Linked DNA regions of Homo sapiens: region 2 is linked to region 1. Evidence: promoter capture Hi-C in 16 types of primary human blood cells and fetal thymus (Javierre and others, 2016). All regions are on one chromosome and are shown on one strand. The core of a region is centred on a gene start or on the middle of the fragment in contact, and the rest is flanking DNA. Distances in the headings are between cores, read along the strand shown.

Region 1 (5,831 bases), core at 1,110-3,609:
AGATTCCCCCTATTTTGGTTCACATCACTCCATATTCCAATTTACATCAGAACCTGAAGCTGAAAATACTCAATTCATTATAACTCCCTAACCACATACTGTTTTTCCATCACTTAAATGTCTCCTGAGTATTTGACATTTTTTAACCTCCTTTAGGAGTATCTCTTTGTAAACATGATGGTGCTTACACACAGTAGGCACTCATACTAGTTATCCTAAAGGCTTTTCTCCAAAATCCAATTATCATTATGCCTAACCTGGAGTTAAGGCCATATTCACTCTGTCCTTATTATCCTTCTAGTTACAAGACATGTATGAATATGCAAAATTTTCCCTAAAATAAGATTTCTATCCAGCAGCATCATTACAATTTGATTTCGTAAAACCTCAAAGGAGTAGTTCCCTGAGGAAGGCTGGCTGGCAGCCCAGGCAAGTCCCTGCAGGGTAGAATTTATCTTGGTGAATTCAACACTTAGAGGCTGGTCCTCTCAGCTTAAAAACTAGTGTTATTCACCCAGGGTAGATCAGTTTTATCACAAGTAGATTCACACTCTTCAAGTGTACAAATTCTGATGTATTAAGAAAAATGCCAAGTTATTAGCTTACAGTGAGGAAAAAAAAAACTGGCAAGGAAACCAGGTACTTAGGTTTTCCTATCAGCATGTTTTCTCTCTAGCCCCTTATCTAGGACATTAAATCACAATCAGACAATGAGAAACATAACTATCAATGGAAAACTATTTAGCAGAAAACAATCTAACTCGTAATGGTAATAAGTACACCCATTGCCGCATGGGAATACCCACTGACGTCTTGGTCAACGGGATGCACATATTATGTCAGTCCCCTATGGTTATAATAAAGCTGAAAAATTCTTATTGCCTAGTGACATCGTAGCAGTACTAACGCTGTAGCGCAATGCGTTCCTTAGTGCTTGTGGTGATGCTGCTGTAAATCAACCTACCACACTGCCAGTGTATGAAAGCATAGCACATACAATTATGTGCAGTCCATGACACTTGATAATGATACTAAATGACTTTGTTACTGGTTTATGTATTACTGTTTTATCGTTATTTTACATTGTACTTCTACTTATTAAAACAAAAAAAAAAGTTATCGCCAAAACCATGCATTTCTCAGAACATGACCCCTTCATTAGGGGCCCATGACTGCGCATCCTCTGGCTTTGCTTCTACTTTCCACTCAGGCATAGTGTGGAGGAAAAATAACCAGAAGGAACAAAGCTGGGGAGCTACTTACTAGACTTGGCCTTTAATAGAGAGTAGAATTTGGGGGAGACATTAAAAAGGACTTGTAGGCCGGGCACGGTGGCTCACACCTGTAATCCCAGCACTATGGGAGGCCGAGGCGGGAGGATCGCTTGAGGCCGGGAGTTTGAGACCAGCCTGGACAACATGGTGAAACCCCGTCTCTACTAAAAATACAAACATTAGCCGGGCGTGGTGGAGGGCGCCTGTAATCCCAGCTACTTTGGCTCAGACAGGAGAATCGCTTGAACCCGGGAGGCGGAGGATGCAGTGAGCAGAGATCGCGCCACTGCACTCCAGCCTGGGCGAAAGGCACTGTCTCCAAAGTAAAAAAAAAAAAAAAAAGAAAAGAAAAAAGACTCAAATAAGCGGAAAGACATACGAGGATTAGAAGATTTCCTATCATAAAGATGTCCCCAAACTGATGTATTCTGAGGGATGGCCAAGAGGCAAGAGATGGAAGGATACTCTGGGCCCAAAGGAACGAGCTAAGATGAAAGAAAATCTCTCACCTCACCTCAGCATCGCTCCCGCACCAACCTGAAAGCGCTGGTGAAGGAATACTCTCGGCTGACATTTCATTACAAAAACCCAGTCATCCAGAGCATGAGATCTCCCTTGGTGGATTAAAATTGATGAGGAAAGAAAAAAGCTCCTGCTTCTCCTCCCAACCCCCAAAAGAAAGAGAACCCGTAAGCACCACTGACAAGAAAATAAAACTGTCCTCAGGGAACACGACAGGACCGCGCAGCCCACAAGTCCTGGCGGCCTCACCCGGACAAGAACGATCTTCCCGGTCTCCTCAAGCGAAAGAGTCTGCTCCCTCCCGCACCTTCAAGCACCGCCCGGCAGCCGGCCTCAAACCTCCGAGTTCGCGGTGGCGCCTCCCGAGAGAGCGCTTTATGCCGAAGCCCTGTCTCTCAGTCCGCTCCCCACTTTCAAGTTTTGCCTCTTGGGCCCCTTTCCTCCCTTGCTTTACCTCAAGAAAGAGAAAGACAGAGGCTAATCGAATGAAATTCCTCACCGAATTCACAGCGTCCTGAAGCTGCGTGAGCCGATCCGCCATGTTCCTACCGCAGCAAACAGACGCCAAAACAGCTGCTCTTCCGCGACTGGGCAGCTCTGGCACGCGTCATGGCCAATCACAGGGCTGCGTCCTTGGAACGGGTGGGGTCGGAGAGAACTCCCCGCCCCGTCAGGAGTGGGTGGTACTCCCGAGGCGGCCTTTCTAGAGCGGGCTACACCTGAGGAGAGGCTGGATCTTTTGAGTAACTGGGGGAATGGTCTGGGGTCCAATCGCTTTGAAATACAGTCCAAGAGCCGAAATACTCCCCTTGGGGTTGTTAGGTGTTAAAGGCTTCAGAGATTGTTGGATTCTGCGGGGATTTTTTTTTTTTAAGTAATTTCTCGTACCCTCTCGTGTTTATTTATTGACCAAATTGAAGAGTAAATATATTTATTTTTATTTATTTATTTATTTATTTATTTATTTATTTGAGACGGAGTCTCGTTCTGTCGCCCAGGCTGGAGTGCAGTGGTGCGATCTCGGCTCACTGCCAGCTCCGCCTCCCGGGTTCACGCCATTCTCCTGCCTCAGCCTCCGGAGTAGCTGGGACTACAGGCGTCCGCACCACGCCCGGCATTTTTTTTTTTTTTTTGTACTTTTAGTAGAGACGGGGTTTCACCATGTTAGCCAGGATGGTCTCGATCTCCCGACCTCGTGCTCCGCCCGCCTCGGCCTCTCAAAGTGCTGGGATTACAGGCGTGAGCCACCGTGCTCGGCCAAGAAAAATTAGCTGCACAATTTAGATTTAGAGTTGGGACTTATTGAGAGTTTAAGTGTGAAAAGTGATAATCGAAACTTGGTATTTAAGGAAATTTAGCCTGAGGATAGTCTGGTAAGAAATGAGTTTGGAATCGGCAAATAACAGGTTTGTAGACTTCAAAAAACTCTCATATCCTCTTTCTCAGGCTGATTATCCGTGATTACCTTCCTGTGGCTGCGGGGAAGGTGGAAGACACAGTCCCTGGGGAACTCAGCTTGTTGGATTTATCCCAACACTTACTGTGAAGCACCACTTCTGCTTCACACCAATGCCCCACCCTCAGCCCCAAACAGTCTACAGACTTACTGGAGCCTCATTAAGAACGTGGATGAGGCATGTTCCCCATAATGGGACTAATGAGAAATCACTCTGTAATTTGTTTTCACTGTAACTTGGGGGGATTCTACAACCTTCTCCTCCCACCCTCACTTGAGAGTGTACCTTACGGAATGGCTGCCACATGCCAGGAAGTATATCCAGTGCTCAATTTGCAAAGATGAATAAGCCAAGGACTCACTAAGGAAGGTTTTGCAGTTGTCCAAGATTAAGATGAGCTGGGCCTAGAATAGGGTGTTGACCCTGATAAGCGGGGAAAGAAAGACTAAAATATATTTTTGAGAAAAAAAATTAATATGGATTGGTGACTGATTGGATATAGTTTAGTCCACTCCATAAGAATACTAAGTTTTGCAGCCTGATTGAAGGGAACTTGGGCAGTTGAAGTAGAGAAGCCACTTCAAGACATTCATATTGTGACACAGTTTTTGTCCTGCCATTATCTTCCTAATAGGTCTTCTGTGCCTCCACAGAGACCTCAGGTTGATGTCCAACTATCTCTGCCTGGTTTTCAAGATTTACTATAATCTGGCTCCAGCAAACAGACCCAGCCTCACCTCCTGATAATTTTCTGAGTGAAATAATCTGTTTCAGCCAAGGTCCCTGACCCCTTGGTTTTCCTGGTTCTTCAGCCTCTTTCGGCCACGGATCTTTTTAAGAATCAGATAAAAGCTGTGGACCCTTTCCCCAGACCAGACTCTCAACTTAGCCTACATTTGAAAAGGGGTTTAGGAAGCTCTTGAAGCTGTAGACTTCAAGAATAACCCACCTGCCAAATATAGTCTGTGCATCTAGCTCAGGATTTCTCAATGGCTGCACTCTTGACTTTTCAGGCTAGATTATTCTTTGCTGTGGGATGCTGACCTGTGCACTGTAGGATGTTTAGAGCATCCCTGTCCCTTACCCCTGAGATGCCGGTAGCATCCCCCCAATCCATTTATGCCAACATAAAGTATCTCCAGATAGTCCCAAATGTTGCTGGGGGGCAAAATTGCCCCCAATTGAGAACCACTGGTCTAGCTCTTTCCTCATTCTTTACCTTTCCCAAAGCAATTTCTTTCCTGCTATTTAATCCTTACCCTACCTTTTTAAGCTGTACACTTCTCATATAAATTTTATGAATTGCTAGAGTCCATAGGGACCTCTCCTTTCTTCCTTTCATGATTTGGACACTTTCTCATATGCTTTTCCATTTGCTTCTGTTGCATCGCCAACTGGATTATATGGTTTTAGGAGCAGGAACCCAGTATTACAGATCTCATATTTTAAACACACAATTTTGGTGAGTACTTTCTTTGAAACTTTATATTATTAAAAGTTTCAAAGATATAGAAAAGTAGACAGTATAGTGAACCCTCGCATACCCTTTACAGCTTCAGCAGTGAGCCACTCAGTCAATCTTGTAAATGCTTTGGTTTTTATGACTGTAGCAACTATTTTTTAAGAAAAACACCTTTAGCAATTTTTAAATAACTTTAATACTCACAGTTGCAATTTATTAAATATCTAAACTGTTCTTAGTGCCGGGATGAATAACTATAAATAAGCATTTTTCTATACCACACTCTTTGAAATTCCCTAAACATGTTCTGCTGTTTTACAAAAATGCACACCATATAAAAACACCTATAATTATTTCTTCCTTGTATGAAATGCCTACACTTCCATCCACATCTCCACTTTGCTCCCTTGGTGATTGTCCACACAGTACTCAAACCTTATTTTATTATTTATTTATTTATTTGAGACAGAATCTCACTCTGTTACCCAGGCTGGAATGCAGTGGCACGATCTCAGCTCACTGCAACCTCTGCCCCCAGGGTTCTAGTGATTCTCCTACCTCAGCCTCCAGAGTAGCTGGGATTACAGGTGCCCGCCACCACACCTGGGTAAGTTTTTTGTATTTGTGTAGAGACGGGGTTTTGCTATGTTGGCCAGGCTGGTCTTGAACTCCTGACCTCAGGTGATCCACCCGCCTTGGCCTCCCAAAGTGCTAGAATTACAGGCGTCAGCCACTGTGCCCGGCCTATTATTATTTTTTTTACTTGCCACTATACTAGTGAACAAAATCTTATTTTAAACATCTCTTTATAAAAGCCTTTCCTGAATTCTGAAAGTTAAATGCTCCCAATCTTTAACACAATTGTTCCTTACACTTCTGTTATTGCACTTAGCATACTGTGCTGTAATTATTTGTACATCACGCTAATTCACCCACCAGTCCATGGGCTACTTGCAGGCAGAAAACATATTCTGTTTCCATATTTCCAGTACCTAGCACCTAACTTTTAGCCTGGCACATATTTATCAACCAAATGAATGAGTTTCCTAGCATAATAATTTCCATATAATAGCTACTAAACAAGCATTTACTGAATTTAACTTAATGAACAAAGAA
Region 2 (5,831 bases), core at 1,710-4,209, 130 kb after region 1:
GCATTTAGATTTCTGATGACATTATTTACTCTTCCTCTGACTAATGAGATCCATTTCATAATGAAATAGGGGTTGATATTTTGGAGGTAGGAAAAATATCTGCTCTTGTTTCCATGCCAGGGATCACATTTTCTCTGTAAGCTTGATGTTGAGAAGACAGTGGTAACCCTCTCCATAACTGAGGGGAAGGTGGAACTTCACATTCCAGGATGGGTGGCTTTCAGGGCCTTAGCACATCCATTTCTTGGTCAGTGTTACTTGTTAGGGTTCTTCCTTGAAACACCAGGGACTGAGGAACAAGGAAAGTCTGACGACTCTTACAGAAATGCTAAGCTACACTTGCTGCTGCTGCTACCACAACTAGTAGACACGTACTTGCCAGCAAGGCCGGAATAACATTTCTAATCCAGGGACTATTTTCTGTGTTCGATGAGGTTAGAATGCTGTTTCCAATTAACCCATTGTCTAGCTCCAGAGTAAGACAGATTCCACTATATGTGATGTTCTCAACTGTGCCAATTTTGTATTCCGGCAGCATAGCATATACAAAGTTTGGATGGACATTTCCGTCAGGCCTCCTTAGTTTAAACATTATTTCCTGGATTTCTTTGTTAGGACACCATTTCAGAGAACTGCTGTTGACTAAACATAAGGCCCTATTATACCAGGATATGATAGTAGACCCTGGTCTCAGGGTAATTAATACGATCTGTTCAGGGTTACTAGAGTTTAGATAGTCAGTGAGTTTAGCAAAAAATAAACCAATTCTCTCTCTCCTTTTAATGAATGAGTAGAAACTGTTTTTTGTGCGCAGAGTGTAAGTGTGGCAGGGACTACTTCTGGGTAGCTTCAGTTCAATGGTCAAAGGCATCTGAGCAACCAGACCCCCGGAATCAGTGGCACAGAGAATAAATTCCTGAGGGGAATATTGGAAATCCAGTTCTAGGGGATACCCATACAATATTTGATGAGTCATGTTAAATTGCAGCCAGCTTTCTGGGCCCGAAGGATACTCATTTACTGATTTTATTTCAAGTGTCAAGTGAGTTGAGTTGCCATCTTCCTGGTCATAAAATGTGTCAGGAGGGATCGGGAAATGAAATGTGTGCCCAACAGTTGCTGTTATCAATTGGATTGAATTAACAACTGTTGGAAATGTGTTGGGTTGACCTAGAAGAAGCAAACAAGAAATAAATTTCAACAAATACTACTCTTTATTTAAATGCTTAAGGTTGTCTTGATGGTTAACTTGTTTCCTCCCTTAGTTTTGCATAGGGCAGTAGGAACACTTCTATTGATCTCCTCTCTGTCTCCCTCTCTCTGTCTCTCTCTCTCTATATATATATACACACACACAAATATATATATATACAAAGATATATATATACACACAAAGATGTATATATACACACACATATACACAAAGATATTAGTATTACTAACTAATCAAATCTGGTTTAGGGGACTTCAGAAAAACAATATTTTGGCAAACAGCCTAAATTCTTAAACTGATTTTTTTGTTTTTTGGTTGAAAGTTGAACAGGAAAAGTTTTTTGTTTTTTTTTTTGAGATGGAGTCTCGCTCTGTCACCCAGGCTGGAGTGCAGTGGCATGATCTCGGTCACTGCAAGCTCTGCCTCCCGAGTTCACGCCATTCTCCTGCCTCAGCCTCCCGAGTAGTTGGGACTACAGGTGCCCGCCACCACGCCCAGCTAATTTTTTTTTTTTTTTTTTGTATTTTTAGTAGAGACGGGGTTTCACCGTGTTAGCCAGGATGGTCTCGATCTCCTGACCTCGTGATCTGCCCACCTCGGCCTCCCAAAGTGCTGGGATTACAGGCGTGAGCCACCGCACCCGGCCCAGGAAAAGTTTTAAGATCAGTACATATAAGTTAGATAATGGTACACGTAAGTTACATAATTGAACAGAATCATAGCAACAAACTAGTACTCCAATTTCAATTAACATTTAAATCTCAAACTACAAAACATTTCAAGCTCTGCATAGATACATTTTGGTGTTTTCTGAGGAAGATGAGATAACATCACAAAAATGGGGCTATGGTGCAATATAACAAAGGCAGGTGGCTTTAGATATTGTGGGGAGCATTAAGTTGGAAAGAAGAGTATCACGCTACTGAAAAAAACTCAATGAATCAAGAAGATAGAGTAGTGCAGTCACTTGATAAATAGACTATTTGAAAGTGACATCTAAGTACTGTTGCATATTTAATGGGATTGATTAACAATGTAAGTCGTAACTACTAGGGAGATCTGTTTCTACTGAATTTCAAACAGCATCAAGGTCCATCAGCCTTACCATTCCATGATGATAGAATTGCTTACCTGGGTGTGACGTGGTCTCAGGTTTCTGAGATTCAGAATGCAGAGCACATGTTCTCAGCATCTATGTTACTTGAAGCCAGTCATATTTAGTGACAGGCAAACTGGTTGTACCTTGTCTAATATTTCTGTAAACTTTGTAGTTACTCCAAAGGAACCCCTTTGTTGTTGTTGTTGTTTTGTTTTTGTTTTTTGAGACAGGGTCTCACTCTGTTGCCCAGGCTGGAGTGCAGTGGCACAGTCATGGCTCACTGCAGCCTCAACCTCCCAGGCTCAAGTGATCCTCCCCCTCAGCCTCCTGAGTAGTTGGGACTACAGTCATGCGCCACTACGCCTGCTATTTTTTTTAATTTTTAAATTTTTGTTTGTTTTTGTAGAGACAGGCTCTCACTATGTTGCCCAGGCTGGTCGCAGTTTCATGGGCTCAAGCAATCTTCCTGCCTCAGCCTCCCAAAGTGCTAGGATTCAGGTGTGTGCCACCACACCTGGCCCTTAATTTAGACATTTAATTTAAACAAGGAAATCTCCCCCAAATTAAAGATCAATGAAAATTTCCATGGAAATTACCATACAAGTATGTTTTGATTTGAAACAAATTCTAAAGCAATCACTCTGATATGAGTTAGCTAGTTCAGAGAAGAGAAGATGAGCAGAGATGATAGCTTGCATTTAATGAACCATGTGCCAGGCACTGTGCTAAGTACATACTTCATTTTATCTTCACAACAAATATATTGGAATAATTATCCTCAGTTTATAAATGATAGAAGTAATATACTAATGTGAATACCTAATATTACACATATAGTAAATTATACAGCTAGATTTCAAACCCGTTTCACTATAGATACTGAGTTATTAATCATCATACTGCCTGTTTGCAGTATATCATGAGATAAATAAACTAAATGAAAGAGGATGGTTTTAACTTTAGTTATAGAGTTTGAATCTGTTAGCAAGCATTTTTCTAACTCTGGTGGTCTGTAAGACTGCAACAGGGCCAGGCACGGTGGCTCACGCCATAATCCCAGCACTCTGGGAGGCCGAGGCAGATGGATCACCTGAGGTCAGGAGTTTGAGACCACCCTGGCCAACATGGTGAAACCCCATCTCTACTAATAATACAAAAAAAATTAGCCAGGCTTGGTGGTGGATGCCTGTAATTCCAGCTACTCGGGAAGCTGAGGCAGGAGAATTGTTTGAACCCGGGAGGCAGAGGTTGCAGTGAGCCAAGATCACACCATTGCACTCCAGCCTGGGCAACAAGAGCGAAACTCCGTCTCAAAAATAAAATAAAGACTGCAACAGATGAATGATTTAGGAATAATAATAACTGGACAGAGTAATGGCTTGAAGCTCCTTCCAGGTTTGTGAGTCTTTGATCAATCTATTGTAAACACAATACACATTAAATAATGTGTATAAGGCATAAGATGGGTACTGTATTTTGTTATTGACTTTTCTTTTTTTTTTTTTTGAGATGGAGTTTCGCACTTGTTGCCCAGGTTAGAGTGCAATGGCGCGATCTCAGCTCACTGCAACCTCTGCCTCCCGGGTTCAAGCGATTCTCTTGCCTGATCCTCCGGAGTAGCTGGGATTACAGGCACCTGCCACCACGCCTGGCTAATTTTTTGTACTTTTAGTAGAGACGGGGTTTCACCATGTTGGCCGGGCTGGTCTCAAACTCCTGACCTCAGGTGATCCTCCTGCCTTGGCCTCCCAGAGTGCTGGGATTACAGGTATGAAACACCACACCCGGCCTGTTGTTGACTTTTCTTACATGATATATTCTTAAAGTTTTTTCTTCCTAAAAACAACTCTATTCCTTGAAAAAGTTGGAAAATATAGACAAATGTAGAGAAGAAAATCAAGCACATGTAATTTCATCACACGGTTACCACTAGGTTACTCTGTTTTAATTATTTAGTTGGTTGCTGCTTGTTAGTATAAATATTCTCTGAAAAATATGGCAAAGAGAAAGCTCAACAACTCCCACAATCTTACCTTGTACCTTATTAAAGTCAGAGATAGTCCTGTATCTTGCTGTTAATACGTTTTTGGAGGTATGTGGGTAACTTATAAACATGTCAGTAGAATCCAAGTTAAGTACTGTATTGCCTGGCAAAATCTGGCTAGTTCTTGAGAATCCACTGAAAGCTAAATGTTCTGTGCCTCAGAACCAGTCACTAAGAATATGCATCATAGTTTTTGAGCCCATATTTTCAGGTAACTCAAATGCATTTGAAAATTTAGACACCTCAGAAAGGGACAGTTCAGATAAGTCATGTAATTGAGTAAATGATGGGGTCTCCTTAGAATATGACTGAGTTTTGATAATCACATCACCATCACACAATGAGCCTTCATCTACGAGTTTGCTGATGAAACAATCAGTTTCCATGGGCAAAAGAGTTGAGTCAGATGTACTATTCCATACAAATTTTGTATTTATGCTCATGCCAGGAGCTGAAATTATTTCTGTAGGAATGATGAATGAATGAATCTGTTGAGAAACTTCAGGAGTGTCAGATGTGTGATTATGCTCATGAAGGTGCTGTTGACTTAGCTGATTTGACAGGAGTACTTGACTGAACTCAAGGGGAAAATGGGAGGCTGCCAGTGTCTCCCTTGCTGATGCTGTAGGTGTCAAGAGACTGTCAGGTGAATGTACAGATTTTTCCCAGTCGACTGGAACAGAGCCACTCCATTTGCTGAGAAATGTTGTCATTGAAGACAGTACTTCTGAAGGCATGGCTATATCCTGCATTACTGAGGGCTTAAGAAAATGAGAGTACTTGGATAATGAAAGGAGAGCTTGTGAATACCCGGCTTGACTAATTGATTCTGAGACAAGGTCGGGTAAAATAGTGTGCTTTTGTATTTCTGTCCCGTGGATTAGGGTGTGTCCTTTTAGTTCCCACTCTGGAGAGTCTAGATTTTCTACTGACATTGACACTGTAGAAGTTCTACCCTGAAGGAAGTCAAAATCTGTGAATGCAGTAGCCATTAGTACCATCGAAGGAGTGACTTCAGCAAAAGCAGCAGAATATTCAAGGTTTGTAGTCAAGGACATTTCCTGTAGCGAATTCTGTGACACTGCTGTATGCTGTGGCCTTTTAGTCTTTGTGCACTTTTGGAATAAACTCCTTGCAGTATTTGGAATAAAGTTGGGATCAGGGATAGGAGTGATCTGTCTCAAGGCAGCACATAAGCTGGGAATTGGCGATGCCTCATCTTTGGGCATCCAGTGAGTCACTGAGGTGGGTAACAAAACAGAGAAAGGTTTGCTTAGCTTTGTAATGAGTTCAGTTGGCCCCATCGTTGAAGTGGGGATTGAGCTTAACTGCCTGGGTCTTCTTGTTTGAGATTTTTGAAGTAATCTCCAACCTTCAATTGTATATCCTAAAACTTGGGCAAGATACTTAGAGGAAGCTTGCTGTTGAAACACTTGCATTAGCTCTGGCAGTACTGTGGAAACCTTATATCCCAT

What was found. The method cuts DNA at HindIII sites, captures the fragments that hold promoters and counts their contacts. A CHiCAGO score of 5 or more calls a contact.
Region 2: a contact is called between a fragment that was not itself captured here and the fragment with the promoter of MED21 in region 1, in 1 of 17 cell types (neutrophils). The highest score is 5.1, in neutrophils.

The regions. Positions count from the first base shown.
Region 1 is chr12:27,019,086-27,024,916 of GRCh38, reverse strand. MED21 (mediator complex subunit 21) reads right to left here and starts at 2,359. Exons shown (of 4, transcript NM_004264.5): 1 at 2,296-2,359. The coding sequence starts at 2,337. RefSeq lists an enhancer at 2,038-2,327. The HindIII fragment of the contact is 6,677 bases long and covers 1-5,831 here.
Region 2 is chr12:26,891,013-26,896,843 of GRCh38, reverse strand. No RefSeq gene overlaps it. Among named protein-coding and RNA genes, the nearest start is that of INTS13, 44 kb to the left of the region's middle. The HindIII fragment of the contact is 5,632 bases long and covers 144-5,775 here.